3 separate regions of the Homo sapiens genome follow, and all the other regions are linked to region 1. Evidence: promoter capture Hi-C in 16 types of primary human blood cells and fetal thymus (Javierre and others, 2016). All regions are on one chromosome and are shown on one strand. The core of a region is centred on a gene start or on the middle of the fragment in contact, and the rest is flanking DNA. Distances in the headings are between cores, read along the strand shown. Region 1 holds the start of AZIN2 (antizyme inhibitor 2). Region 2 holds the start of TRIM62 (tripartite motif containing 62). Region 3 overlaps RNF19B (ring finger protein 19B).

The links. The method cuts DNA at HindIII sites, captures the fragments that hold promoters and counts their contacts. A CHiCAGO score of 5 or more calls a contact.
Region 2: a contact is called between a fragment that was not itself captured here and the fragment with the promoter of AZIN2 in region 1, in 1 of 17 cell types (naive CD4 T cells). The highest score is 6.2, in naive CD4 T cells.
Region 3: a contact is called between a fragment that was not itself captured here and the fragment with the promoter of AZIN2 in region 1, in 12 of 17 cell types (activated CD4 T cells, naive B cells, total CD4 T cells and 9 more). The highest score is 9.4, in activated CD4 T cells.

Annotation. Positions count from the first base shown.
Region 1 is chr1:33,078,772-33,083,575 of GRCh38, forward strand. It overlaps AZIN2 (antizyme inhibitor 2), which reads left to right and starts at 2,382. Exons shown (of 12, transcript NM_052998.4): 1 at 2,382-2,523; 2 at 2,617-2,737; 3 at 2,830-3,041; 4 at 3,407-3,583. The coding sequence starts at 3,479. It overlaps LOC105378635 (a long non-coding RNA gene), which reads right to left and starts at 2,225. Exons shown (of 3, transcript XR_947163.2): 1 at 2,150-2,225; 2 at 1,428-1,556. RefSeq lists a silencer at 2,344-2,603. The HindIII fragment of the contact is 16,354 bases long and covers 1,785-4,804 here.
Region 2 is chr1:33,181,432-33,186,228 of GRCh38, forward strand. It overlaps TRIM62 (tripartite motif containing 62), which reads right to left and starts at 612. Exons shown (of 5, transcript NM_018207.3): 1 at 1-612. The coding sequence starts at 1. It also overlaps a transcript of ZNF362 not described here. RefSeq lists silencers at 177-246, 477-786. The HindIII fragment of the contact is 679 bases long and covers 2,411-3,089 here.
Region 3 is chr1:32,953,689-32,958,018 of GRCh38, forward strand. All of the region lies in intron 1 of RNF19B (ring finger protein 19B), which reads right to left. Among named protein-coding and RNA genes, the nearest start is that of RNF19B, 9.0 kb to the right of the region's middle. The HindIII fragment of the contact is 5,060 bases long and covers 1-4,330 here.

The sequences.
Region 1 (4,804 bases), core at 1,132-3,631:
CCCAGCCTCCCGAGTAGCTGGGACTACAGGCTCCCGCCACCGCACCTGGCTAATTTTTTTTTGTATTTTTAGTAGAGATGGGGTTTCACCATGTTAGCCAGGATGGTCTCGATCTCCTGACCTCGTGATCCTCCCATCTCAGCTAGGATTACAGGCGTGAGCCACCGCGCCTGGCCCTCTCAGTATAATCTTTTAGGGTTTCTGCCATGGCCGTCCTAATCTACCCTTCCTGATTGGTAGATACTTGTTCTCATACTATGTTGCAAATGACTATTAATCTCAAAGAAAGGTCCTGCAAATGACTGTCCTATAAAGCTGCCTCCTGAAATACTACTCCTATGCATAGAAAACAAGATGGTTCCAGGCAGAAGGGCCCAGAGAAATCAGTCTGAAACCTCTCAGTTCACAGGGGGAAATCAAGCCAGGCAGAAGTGACCCAGATCCAGTTAGGGTGACTCAGCCAAGGACACCCAGCAATTATATGTCCCAGCTGGGTAGGGAGCAGAAAATGGCTCTCCTGCTTCTGGTCCCTGCCCCACACCATTTGTGTACTGAGCATGTTCTAACTAGGTTGTGCAGTGTCCTAGGGAGATACTAAGGCGGGACAAGAAGTGCCTCTGATTTAAAAAAAAGTCTACAGCCCACTGGGCATGGTGGCTCACGCCTGTAATCCCAGCACTTTGGGAGGCTGAGGCAGGCAGATTGCTAGAGCTCAGGAGTTTGAGACTAGCCTGGGCAACAGGGCGAAACCCTGTCTCTACAAAAAATACAAAAATCAGCAAGGTATGGTAGCATGCACTTGTAGTCCCAGCTACTTGGGAGGCCGAGGTTGGAGGATCACTTGAGCCTGGGAGGTGGAGGTTGCAGTGAGCTGAGGTCATGTCACTGCACTCCAGCCTGGGTGACAGAGCCAGATCTTGTCTCAAAAGAGAAAAAAAAAAAAAAAAGCCCACAGCCTAGCAGGGGACATGAAGACATATGGTAGACCAAAAGCCCTTTGGCTTCATTGATTTGAAATGCTGCCTCCATTGTGTACCAATCTCCAATGTATATGGGACTGTTGTAGACCCTGTTCTGTTTTACCACTGTCTCTTCCTGCTCCAGCACCATACTGTTTTAAAGACTGTAGTTTTGGCCGGGCGCGGTGGCTCACGCCTATAATCCCAGCACTTTGGGAGGCCGGGGCGGGTAGATTACTGGAGGTCAGGAGTTCAAGACCACCCTGGCCAATATGGTGAAACCCCATCTCTACTGAAAATACAAAATTAGCTGTGCGTGGTGGCATGCGCCTATAATCCCAGTTACTTGGGAGGCTGAGGCAGGAGAATCGCTTGAACCCAGGAGGCAGAGGTTGCAGTGAGCTGAGATCGTGCCATTGCACTCCAGCCTGGGCAAAAAGAGTGTCTTGACTGTTCTTGTACACTTACTTTTCCAGATGAACTTTTATATCAGCTTTTGAGTAACACAGCTATTGAATCTTCCTCAGCATTCTTGTCTATGCCAGGCACCAGGCTCTTGAGCAGGGTATTCAGTCCTTGCCCTTGGGAAATCACAAACTAGATGCAAAGTGTAACCAAACAAGAAGTGTAAAATAACAACAGGAATCTCACGCTATGGGTAACAAGAACCAAATGAGTGAGGGGTCCAGACAGACTAAATGCTGTGTTCCTTGGGGCCAGGCAAGTCATGGAAGGTTCAACAGAGGTGACATTATACAGGACTTTGATGGGTGAGCAGCAGCTTTCGGTATAGAAGAAATGCTTTGAGTTGAGGAAGTCCGGGAAAGCTTCTTGGAGAAGGAGACACATTTCTATTGAGAGATGAGTAAGAGTTTGCCGGGTTCACAGGATGGGATAAAGGGAGGGATTGCCCTGAACTGGGAAAGTCACAAAAAGGTTCTCTGAAGACATTTTAGATGCGTTTTGAGTTGGAGTCGGGGAAGATGCCTGGAAGAGGCAATTAAATAAAAAGAATTTTATTACAAAAGTAATACAAGGACATGTCATTGGAACCGGGTTTCGAGAGATGAGTGAGCAGTTCCTGACGCAGACAAGAGCTGGACCACGAAGTAAGTTGAGGCAGAGGCAGAAAAGGCTTCCTGGTCCTGCCCACTCTCTAAGACCTAAGATGCAGGGTCTAAGTGTCTCACCTGCGTGGCGGCGGCCCTGTAGTTCTGACTTCCAGCGTGAGGTAGCCACCGCCAGGCCTCCGGGGGAGAAGACTACAGTAAGGGCGAGCAGAGCTGAATGCTTTATGTCGGAATCGACCAATGGGATGGCGGCACCCGGTTGCCAGGGCTACGGCCAAGCGGAGGTAGGGCCTCGGCACTATGGGCGGGGCCTGGGCGGGGTTATATAAGCCAGCGGCGGGCGGAAGGCGGGGCGTGGGGGTCTGTGGCTGCTGGGCTGGCGGGGCGCAGGCCGCGGGACCCGAGCCCGGGGAAGCGAGAGAGCGGAGGCGCCGAGGATCCGATTCACTCCCTGGGGAGACCTATGGGCCGAAGCCGTGTAAATGCGTTTTAAGGCGAGTGCGGAAAGTGGCCTGGGGAGCCTCGGGGAGCGGACGCCCTCCGCCCTGGTGCTGACCTGCCTCCCTGCCCCTTCTGCCTCCTGTCAGCAGAGGCCTCGGCTCCGCAACTGCCACTCCTCCTCGGGGTGTTGCACAAGTTTCGAGGTCACCGGCGACCCCCCCTAGCAGCGCGCCTGGCTCTGGCCCCCGCGAAGGAGGACGGAGTTTGGTAAGGGGCCCTGGGGGTTGGGGGGACCTCAGCCCTGCACTCTGTAGGAGTCACTCGGACAGAAAAAACCTCGGCCTTCCGTTCTCTCCCAGGAGCTTGCGGCCCCCACCCACCGCGTGGCGTCCCCAGGCACGCCTAGAATTCTAGCACCTCAGGATCAGTCCAGCCCCCATTTACAATTGGGGAAACTGCGGCTCCGAAAGGGTCAGAGGGTACCCGAGGTCAAGCAGTAGAGAGCGGACTCGAACTTAAGCTCTTGCTCTTAGGCTGAGACGCCTTGATGTGGCCACCGGCTACCCTCTAGGTGGGCGTGGTCAAGACTGGGGGCGCCCTGGAAACTTCCCCACCCAAGTTTCTCAGATTTTCTGTTCCATCTCTCTCTCACTCTTTCCTGAAATCCAGAATTTCAGAACTGGGAAGGCTCTCCAAAACAATTCATCCATTTTACAGAGGGAGCAACTGACTCGGAGAGGCAGTGACATTTGGGCATACGGTGCCTTGTCTCCGTCTGAAATCCGGGATTCTTGACTTTCTCCACCCTTGCCCAGTGAACCCCGGGCTTGTGCTGGGGGCGGGTTGTGACGGGATTGGGATCCCTGGCCTCGGGAGGCGAGTGGGGCAGCAGAGCCGGCCCCCCAGCGGTTCCCTTCATCTCCCCTCGCCCCGCAGTGTGTTGCATACTTTCTAAGGCGGCGGCTGCAGCAGCGGCTCCATCCAGCCCGTCAGCTCCTCCTGCAAGGCATGGCTGGCTACCTGAGTGAATCGGACTTTGTGATGGTGGAGGAGGGCTTCAGTACCCGAGACCTGCTGAAGGAACTCACTCTGGGGGCCTCACAGGCCACCACGGTGAGGGGCTGGGAATGGGGGTGGGTCCCCGGTCCCCTGTACAGATCAGCTGCCTCCTCAGGAAGGGTCCCTAGGGCCCTCATCTTATCCTTTCGCTTATTTGGTACGCAATCCTTGCTATTTGCAAGAGAGGGGCTCAATTTATCCCCAATTCTTTGTCCTTGCCCCCAAACCTGCCCCTCCTATGTTGCCTTTTTACCCAGCCCTCCAAGGTCAGAAACGGGGGATTCCTTTCCTGCTGCCCCCTCTCCCTCACCGCCCACATCTAGGCATTACCAAGCTCTGTGAATTCTGCCTCCTTAAATAAGCCTCCAGTGTGCTTATGTGGAACCTCGCTTTCTAGTTCAGTCTTCCTCTCTCCAAAGGCCCCCTGATCTCCCGGTCTCATGCCACCCCCTCCAAAGGTATCATAGTCCTGTTCAAAATCTGAATTTGGCAATTCTCCACTGCCTACAGGATCAAGTCAGAGCTTCCCTGCCTCCATAGCCCCATTCCCAGCTTTCCCCACAGTATATATTATGCTCCTTCGGAGCTGAATGACTCAATTTGCATTTCCCAATGATGCTGTGTGCCCAATGATGCTATTACCATGCCTTTGCCCAGGCTGTTCCTTCTGCCTGCAGCATCCTTCTCTCAGCCTCTCCCCTCTTTACCCCTTTCTAGTCATTCCTTGCTTCTCATCAGTGTTGCCTTTCCTGATCGCCCCAGGCAGATTTTCTATTTTCTTTCTCCATGCCCCTGCATTGCACCTTGTAGAAACTGCCATCTAACATCTGCTGAATGGACTTGTAAGTACTTAAGGGGTTCCTTTTCTTCCAGACCCAAGCTCCTTCAGAACAACAGTACTGTTTGGTCATCTCTGTCCCTTAGCATAACGTTTGGCACCAAGTGGGCATGAGTAAAAAAGTGTTGCATGAAAGGGAAACTGAGTCCCAGGGAAGCAACTCTGGAAGGGTCCCTTCCACATTTAAGTAATGTGGTCTCACCCACAGCCTCATACATGTTTGGCCTTTAGCACATCTACAATGAACAGTTGTCCATAGGGATAGGTTGCAGTGTCAGTGGGACTAGCTTAAGGCTTCATTGAGCACCTGTGTTTGGAAGGCAGTGAGCTGTAGGTCATAGCTTCTGCCTTTAGGGAGTTTACCCTTTTCTAGAATGGACAGATGCATATGCAGTTCTGATACCTTGGAAGCATATGCAAATGCAGTGGGAGCATTT
Region 2 (4,797 bases), core at 1,500-3,999, 100 kb after region 1:
TGGCGCCAGGGGCAGCAGAGAGGGGGGCCCGAGGGGCAGGGGGGCGGCTGAGAGAGCGCGGCGCTGTCGGAGGCAGCACCGAGGGCTGGGCGCGGGGACGAGGCCCGCACAGGCAGGGGTAGGAGCTACCGGAGAAGGGAGGGGGTGCTGTCCGGAAGGAGGGTAACGCGAGGAAGGGGTGCGCGGCTGAGACTCCGTGGGACGCCAGCCCGGGAGGGCAGTCTAGAGGTAGTGGGCAGCTCAAGGCGATGGGCGCTGGGAGGAGGCTGTGAGCGGCTGAGGGACGGAGATCCTGACGGGGAGGTTCTAGGGGGCGGGGCAGTCCTAAGGGATAGGAGCTGGGAGAAGGGGATCCCGGAGCGGGGTGGAGCCCTTAAGGGGGTCGAAATCCCGGGGTGGGGGCGGTGCGGGGAGGGCGAGAAGCTGGGGATGGGGAATCCTGGGGGAGGGGGCAGCCAGGCCGAGCCGTACATTGGCTGTGACCGGCAGAGAAGAGGAGGGGTGCCGGCCCGCTCAGCTGCCGGATCCCGGCCCCAAACCCTGGCCCAGCGCGACCCCTTACCCCCGCGAGCTTAGCAGCCACCGCTTCGGTCCAGCGCAGCCTCTCAACCCGGAACCAGCCGAATCCGAGCTGCCGGTGGCCGCGGCTGCCTCCCCGCCCCCGTGGGCGGGACCCAAGCAACTCCGCCCCCGCAGCGGGCGGGGGAGGGGCGGGGCCACCAGCCGGTTGACCCCGCCCCACCCCCACCATCCTCCAGCTCCCAGGGAAGCGAAGCCCAGCTGTTCCTTCGGGGTGTGTACTTGGAACTGCATCCAGGTCTCGCTTAGGGTCCCCGCGGCGAGGCGGAGCAGCTAATTTGAGAGCACAACAAATAAACAAGGAGCATCTTTCTGGATCATCGATTTGAAGATGTAGAAAAAATCATATTTTGTATTAAAACGAACAAGAATATATTTGGAATACAACTTCTGCATAAAATATAAAGATAAAACTCTTGAAATGCCCTGCTTGCTTAGAGCGAGTTCAAGGCCCTCACACTCCTAAGCCCTGGGGTCCCATTTCCTCTTCACTTTCTTAAGGAGTGCTTGGGGAGAAGTTTGGAAAGCCCTGGCTAACATCTGGCCCCGGAGGCTGCCTCCATTGGCAAACAATTCTGGAGTGCTGTATTTGTGTGTGTGTGTGTGTGTGTGTGTGTGTGTGTGTAAGGCGGTGAGGGGTGGAGCAGGAGAGAGGGAGAAAAAGTAATAGGAGAACTTGTCTTGTGTGCCAGATGGAGAGGGGATAAGGGATTTCTAGGCAGAGGAGACAGCCTGTGCAAAAGCATAGAGGCGTGAAAGGGGAGGGCGCAGTGAAGGAAGTGCTAGTAATTCTGTACTGTTGGGGGTGGGGTGGAGAAGGAGCCTGGGTGGGCTGGAGGGCATTGTGGGTCATGGTAAAGAATTTCTTGAAGGCATGGGGCTTTCAGGCAAGGGAATGACCTGGTCCGATTGGGTTTCAGGAAGTCTTGGAGATAATCATTATACCATCTGCAAGGTGAAGAAGACAGGGAGCTTTTCCAATGTGTCTGCGGATGCACAGCACTCAGCACACAGTAAAGGTGTGTAGCTGAATAACCGCATCAACGCCCTGGGTTGCAGGAGGAAGGAAAGACTGGGCACCCCTAAGGTGCTGTTGTCATCGTGCCTGCAGGAGGTGAGACCCGAACTGGGGCCTCAGCAGTGGGTAAGGAGAGAAGACTAGGGTATTGCAAGTACAGACACGGTGACATTTGGTGATGGTTGGATACGGGGGTGAGGGAAATGAGCCATAGAGGGTGGCTACCAGTTTCTGCCTCCTCCAGAAATATCTTCATTGGTGTTAAACTTTATTGAGGTACAGTTTATGAAAAAGCTCTCAGTTTAGTTCTCTATGGTTAACACTTTCTCCATCACACCCTCATCTGGCCCAGAATCTCCATCATTGCGAGAAAAATAGTTGGTTGCTCATGCAACAGCAGTTTCTCAACATTTTCTTATGGGCAGAGCCCTGATTTTGGTCAGGTGGCCCCCTTCCCCAAGTGACCCAAGGAAGGCTGACCCCAGCCCATTTCCAGGAGTGAGTCTTGTTTGGTCCAAGTCCATTATGGTGGTCTCATGGAGTGAGTCTTGTTTGGTCCAAGTCCATTATGGTGGTCTCATTCCTCTTGCCAGTGACGGTTTGGGCAGGTCCAGCCTGAAAAACTAAAGGGGAAGCCTATGGCAGAGAGGGGTTTTCAGGAAATGGTCTCTTTACTTTGCAAAACAGTCTGCCCCCTTTGCTGGGATATGTTTGGTGGCAATGCTTGGAATTGCAACAGCCATCTTGCTCCCAGTCTGAGGATGCAGCAAATACAGAAGGGAGGGCAAGGCCAAGAGAGTCCTAGGGAAGAGAAGCTTTTATTCTGATGCAGAGTCTGGACTTCAGGATATGTGAGATGGTCCATCTTATTGCATAAGCCAGTTTAACAGTAGTGCATTGTCACTTTGCAACCCAGAGAATCCCAACTGATATACTGACGTGCACCCCTAATGAGGGGGTGGGGAAAGTGAACAGGGCAGAGTCTAAATTATTGAAGCATTTGAAATGAAATGAAAAAAAAAAAGGCTTGATGATGGATGAAACAGTGACTTCATTATTCAACATGTATTTACTGATGCTGACTCCAAGCAGGTCTTTGTGAGGAGGTGGAATAAACTATGCTCCTTGCTCCCAAGGAGCTGGCAGTCTAGAGGGCAAAATCAATGAGAAATTCTTATCAGGCACAGTAGGGCTTGCTAAGCATTCTCACATATATTATTGGATTTCAGTCCCAAAGCAGCCTTAACTAGTTTATATTATTATCCCCGTTTTATAGAGGAAGATACCAAGGCTCAAATAAAGGAGATGTGATGGAAATTGCTAGCTGTCCACTAAACTTCATCCTCCTGTTCTTCTATGTAGTAGAGTAGCAGTCGGAGGAATGGCTGGTCCACTAGAGATCATACATCCCAGCTGTTCTTGCAGCCGAGTGAGACTTGGTGACTAAAATCTTTCTAATAGAACATAAATAGAAATAGACCTTAAGGCATGAAGCTTTTGCTCTCCCATGCTCCATTTTCTCTTCTCTTGAGTTGGAACATAGATGTACCAGGGACACAGCTTCAATAATGCTTCAAAAGGGCTGATGGAGCAAAGATATGGGAGGATCCTGGGTTCCTGAATGACTGCATGAAGTACAGCCACCCTGACATGGACTACAGAGTGAGAAGTAAACTTATTTTCTAAGAGCCATTGTATTTTGGGTCTTTTGTTGCAGCAGCCCAGCTTTCTCCATACTATTTTGCAGCTGTTTTTATTATTTATTTATTTGAGATGGAGTCTCGCTCTGTCACCCTGGCTGGAGCACAGTGGCATGATCTTGGCTCACTGCAACCTCTGCCTCCCAGGTCCAAGTGATTCTCCTATCTCAGCCTCCCTAGTAGCTGGGACTACAGGCGCATACCACCATGCCTGGCTAATTTTTGTATTTTTAGTAAAGACAGGGTTTCACCATATTGGTCAGGCTGGTCTCAAACTCCTGACCTCAGGTCATCCAACCGCCTCTGCCTCCCAAAGTGCTGGGAATACAGGCATGAGCCACTGCGCCCAGCCAATTTTGCAGCTGTTTTTAGAAGAGGCTCTGGTACTATTTTACTCTATTGTCTAAATCCTTTCAGTAGATAGTCTTAATATGTAGGTCTAATCTCCTCCAAAGGACATAGTATGTGGTTTTCTCTGGCTGAAAGTCACAGACTCTTTTTTTTTTCTTTTGAGATGGAGTCTTGCTCTGTTGCCCAGGCTGGAGTGAAGTGGTGCAATCTTGGCTCACTGCAACCTCCACCTCCCAGCCTCAAGCAATTCTTGTGCTTCAGCCTCCCGAGTAGCTGGGATTACAGGTGCCCGCCACCACGCCAAGCTAATTTTTGTATTTTTAGTAGAGAGGGGGTTTCACCATGTTGGCCAGGCTGGTCTCAAACTCCTGACCTCAAGTGATCTGCCTGCCTTGGCCTCCCAGAGTGCTGGGATTATAGGTGTGAGCCACCGTGCCCGACCCAGTCTCTTCTCTTTCACTTTACTTCCCAGTGTTCAGTCCTTTTATCCTCTGAGCAGTTCTTCTCTTGACCTTATTCCATCTCCATTAAGATGCAGAACACTAAAACTGTTGATTATCTTTACATTTGGCAAGTCATTGCTCTCTCCACATCTGATGTGGTTGAGTGGTCTGAACTAAGACTTAGAGATCCTGACTGCAGTGTATGCCATCTGCTTCCATTCATACTCCAGAAATTAACATCAGGAATTTTTTTTTCTGGAAAGCTATCCAAGAGCTATTGTTGAGTGAGAAAAAGAAAAGAAAGACCCAAATACACTGACACATAGACACCCACAGACTTAGACACAATCACAGGCATTATTTGCATAACAAAAATTCTATAGAACTATATTCTAATTGTGTTCTTTTGTGGGCTGGGATTATGGGGGACTTTAACTTTTACATTAGATAGCTCTGTTTATTATATATATTTTTGTAATCAGAAAAAATAAAGAAAATTGATCCTCATTATTTATGGATTCCATATTTGCAAAATCACCTACTTCTAAAATTTATTTGTAACCTTCAAATCAATACTTGAGGCACAATTGCTATTATTTGTGGACATACTTATGTGCAGTGGTGAAAATCTTGACTTACCCACACATATGTTCCCAGCTGAAGGTGAACAAAGGGACACCCTGCCTTCTTGTCTCAGCTGTCATAG
Region 3 (4,330 bases), core at 857-3,356, 130 kb before region 1:
AAGATAAACAACGTGTCTCCTCAAGACAGTGACTAGCTTGTTATTTTGCATTAAATGGGAAAGTTACTGGATGACCTCAGAAAAGCACTAAGTCAACTTCTAAAGATACAAATTAAGTGGACATCCAGTAGGGAGCCTTGAACACTTCATCATCCATTCCTACCTCACATGGCAGAAGTAAATGTTTATTAACATTCCCCCAGCCCCCACTTCTTTTTTTTTTTTTTTTTTTTTTTTGAGACGGAGTTTCACTCTTGTTGCCCAGGCTGGAGTGCAATGGCGTGCTCTCGGCTTACTGCAACCTCTGCCTCCTGGGTTCAAGCGATTCTCCTGCCTCAGCCTCCCAAGTAGCTGGGCTTACAGGCGCCCGCCACCATGCCCAGCTACATTTTTTGTATTTTTAGTAGAGATGGGGTTTCACCATGTTGGCCAGGCTGGTCTCGAACTCCTGGCCTTCAAGTGATCCTCCTGCCTCAGCCTCCCAAAGTGCTGGGATTACAAGTGTGAGCCACCGTGCCCAGCCCACTTTTTTTTTTTTCTTGAAAAAGAAGAACATTGGATAGGATCAACAATGTCAATTTTGAGTGTGTAATTTGGTGCCAAGGAAGTAAAATAACCCCAAATTACTCATGAATCCACAGCAATCTATTACTACGACACAGAATTACTCAGGGCACGAGATTTGGCATTCCTGTTTTTGGGTACCTGGTCTGAGCTCTTGCCTCTGACTCATGCTGCATGACATGAAGCTATTAAAATCTCCAAACCGGCCTGGTGCAGTCACTCACGCCTGTAATCCCAGCACTCTGGGAGGCCGAGGCAGGTGGATCACCTGAGGTCAGGAGTTCAAGACCAGCCTGGCCAACATGGTGAAATCCCGTCTCAACTAAAAATACAAAAATTAGCCAGGCATGGTGGCGCATGCCTGTAATCCAGCTACTCGGGAGGCTGAGGCAGGAGAATTGCTTGAAACTGGGAGGCGGAGGTTGCAGTGAGCCAAGACCACACCACTGCACTCCAGCCTGGGCAACAAAAGAGGAATTCCATCTCAAAAAAAAAAAAAAACAATCTCCAAACCTTAGCTTCTATTCCACCAAATGGAGGTATAGGTACTTGTCACATTCAAACGTAGCTAAACACGTTCTAAAACTGCATGTGAGACCTTGTCCTCAAAGATATATGGCGTAAAAACATCGTACACTCTGTCCTACTTTCTGGCTTTTACATACTCTATTCCTTCTACCTAGAAATGTCTTGTCCTTACTTCTTGCCCTGACAAGTACCCATTTAAGAACCAACTCAGGTGTCATTTTCTCTGTAAAATATACTTAACCTCTCTAGGCAGCTCGTTGCCTACTTCGTGGGTGTGCACAATTATTTTATAACACTTACATTATAATGTAACTAACTGTTTATATGCTTGCCTTCCAAACCACACTGGACTTAAGGAGACATATCATCCACTTTTTAATCTCAGTCTAGTATACTGGTTCATGCTCAAAATACCTGTGTTGCATGAATGACAGAGACCCTCTCTTGTTTTGGTTGTTTGACCTTCCCTAGGACATTCTAGGTCTTCTCCTAGGCCATCACTCTGCTCTAAAGCAATCTTTTCAATGTATCCATGTATCTATTGGCTTATTATATGCCAGGTACTATAACCTAATCCTAAAATTTCATATAAACCCACTTTAGTGGTAAACCCCTAAGTTCTGAATACGGTAATCTTCTTCCCGAATAGTTGGAAAAAAAAAACCTCGCCTGGGCATGGTGGATCACACCTGTAATCCCAGCACTTTGGGAAGCCAAGGTGGGTGGATTGCTTGAGCTCAGGAGTTCGAGACCAGTCTGGGCAACATGGCAAAACCCCATCTCTACAAAAAAAAAAAATACAAAAATTAGCTAGGCGTGGTGGTGCATGCCTGTAGTGCATGCCTGTAGTCCCAGCTACTCAGGAGGCTGAGGTGGGAGGACGGCTACAGCCCGGGAGGTGGAGGCTGCAGTGAGCCAAGATCGTGCCACTGCACTCCAGCCTGGGAGACAGAGCTAAACCCTGTCTCAAAAAAAAAAAAAAAAGAAAAGAAAATACCTCATCCTTGAAACCCAATCTGCCCTGTCCACTTTGTTCCTTCTCTTCCACGTCCCATGCTGGTGCATCTCTCCTACTCTGCTCTTTTAGCTTAACCAATCAGTCAGGCTTGCTAATCAGAAGCTAAAAGAAAGGTGTAGAAAATTACATGCTGTGAAGAATACAGACACAGCTGGGTGCAGTGGCTCATGCCCATAACCCCAGAACTTTGTCAGGCAAAGGCAGGAGGATCACTTGAACCCAAGAGTTCAAGACCAGCCAGGGCAACATGGTGAAATCCCATCTCTACGAAAGACACAAAAATTAGGCCGGGCATGGTGGCTCATGCCTGTAATCCCAGCACTTTGGGAGGCTGAGGTGGGTGGATCACCTGAGGTCAGGAGTTCGAGACCAGCCTGGCCAACCTGACAAAACCCCTCTCTACTAAAAATACAAAAAAATTAGCTGGGCATGGTGGCGTGCACTTGTAGTCCCAGCTACTCCCAGCTACTCGGGAGGCTGAGGCAGGAGAATCACTTGAATCCAGGAGGCAGAGGTTGCTGTGAGCCGAGATTGCACCACTGCACTCCAGCCTGGGTGACAGAGTGAGACTCTCTCTTCAAATAACAACAACAACAAAAATTAGCCGAGTGTGGTGGGGCGCGGTGGCGTGTGGTGGCACATGCCTGCAGTCCCAGCTACTTAGGAGGCTGAGGTGGGAGGATCACCTGAGCCTGGGAGGTTGAGGTTCTAGTGAGCTGAAATTGCACCACTGCACTCCAGCACGGGCAACAGAGTTACAGAGTTAAACCCTATCTCAAAAAAATAAAAAATAATAAAAAAGAAAAAGACTACAGACCGCCCACCCCAGCCCCTGCTGCTTAAGTTCATACAACTTTTACTCATTTTATTAATTTCCTAAATCTTCAGAAACTTCATAAAGTGACAAGCTAGACCACAGCATTACTTAGCTTCAGCCCTGGAAAGAGATTTCCATTAGTATAAATTTGATTATGCTCCAATAGACTTCAGTGGTTAAAGAAATGTGTTCCTATATTATGTCTGTACTTTCCATCCCCAAGTCATGTAACATAACTAGGCTACCCATTTACAAATAGACCCCTAGTAGGCATCAGGGTGGTAGACATGCGCCAACTTGTCACAATGAACTGTACCCTTAACATCTTCATTTTTCCTGCCCTATTTAAGACCCATCTCTAGGCTAGACAACTCCAAGAGCCTCCTTATCTGCTCTCCCTATTCCCCACTCCATCCAAATTCCATTCTGGAAGGTTACTCTTTTGCTTAAAATCCTTCAAAGAAAAAGAAAAAAGAAAAAAAGTGCTTCAACCCAAAACTTATTTCCATGGCTTACACAGGCCTATCAACCTGAATCCAGTCCACGTTTTCAGGTTGATCTCTAGTCATTTCCCAGGTATGGGGTCTTGCTATTACCCAGGCTGGTCTCGAACTCCTGGGCTCAACTAATCCTCCCACCTCAGCCTCCTAAGCAGCTGGGACCACAGGTGCACACCACCATGCCTGCTCCTCTGTGAAGTCTTTCTTGAAACCATCATGCAAATTCTATTGTTCTTTCATCTATCTAAGAGCACCCGTATTTTCTTTAGTATTTATCATATGACATTTGAATAATTTTCTATCTATCTATGTATCAATTATCTGTCTCCTCTACCAGGTGAAACTTCCTATCAAGAAAACCATGTCTAAGTTCTTTTTGAAATACCCAGTACTCACCCAGGGTTCAACAGTGTATCATTCTGAAAGTATCTGTTGAAGCCAGGTGTGGTGGCTCACACCTGTAATCCCAGCACTTTGGGAGGGTGAGGCGGGTGGCTCGCTTGAAGTCAGGAATTCAAGCCCAGCCTGGCCAACATGGTGAAACCCTGTTTCTACTAAAAATACAAACATTAGCTGGACATTGTGGCACATGCCTGTAATCCCAGATACTTGGGAGGCTGAGGCAGAAGAATCGCTTGAACCCGAGAGGCAGAGGTTGCAGTGAGCTGAGATGGCACAACTGCACTCCAGCCTGGGCGACAAAGCGAGACTCCATCTCAAAAAAAAGTTGTCTGTTGAATTGAATGATCACCTGTCTATACTATTCTTGCTTATCTCTTTCATCTCTATTCTTCCTCTGAGAACTATGCTGCTCATATTTCTTATCTTTTTCATCAAAATTCATCTATGTACCACACTCTTCTAGAGCCTAATTGAAAGACTTTGTACACAGAGTTGTAGAAA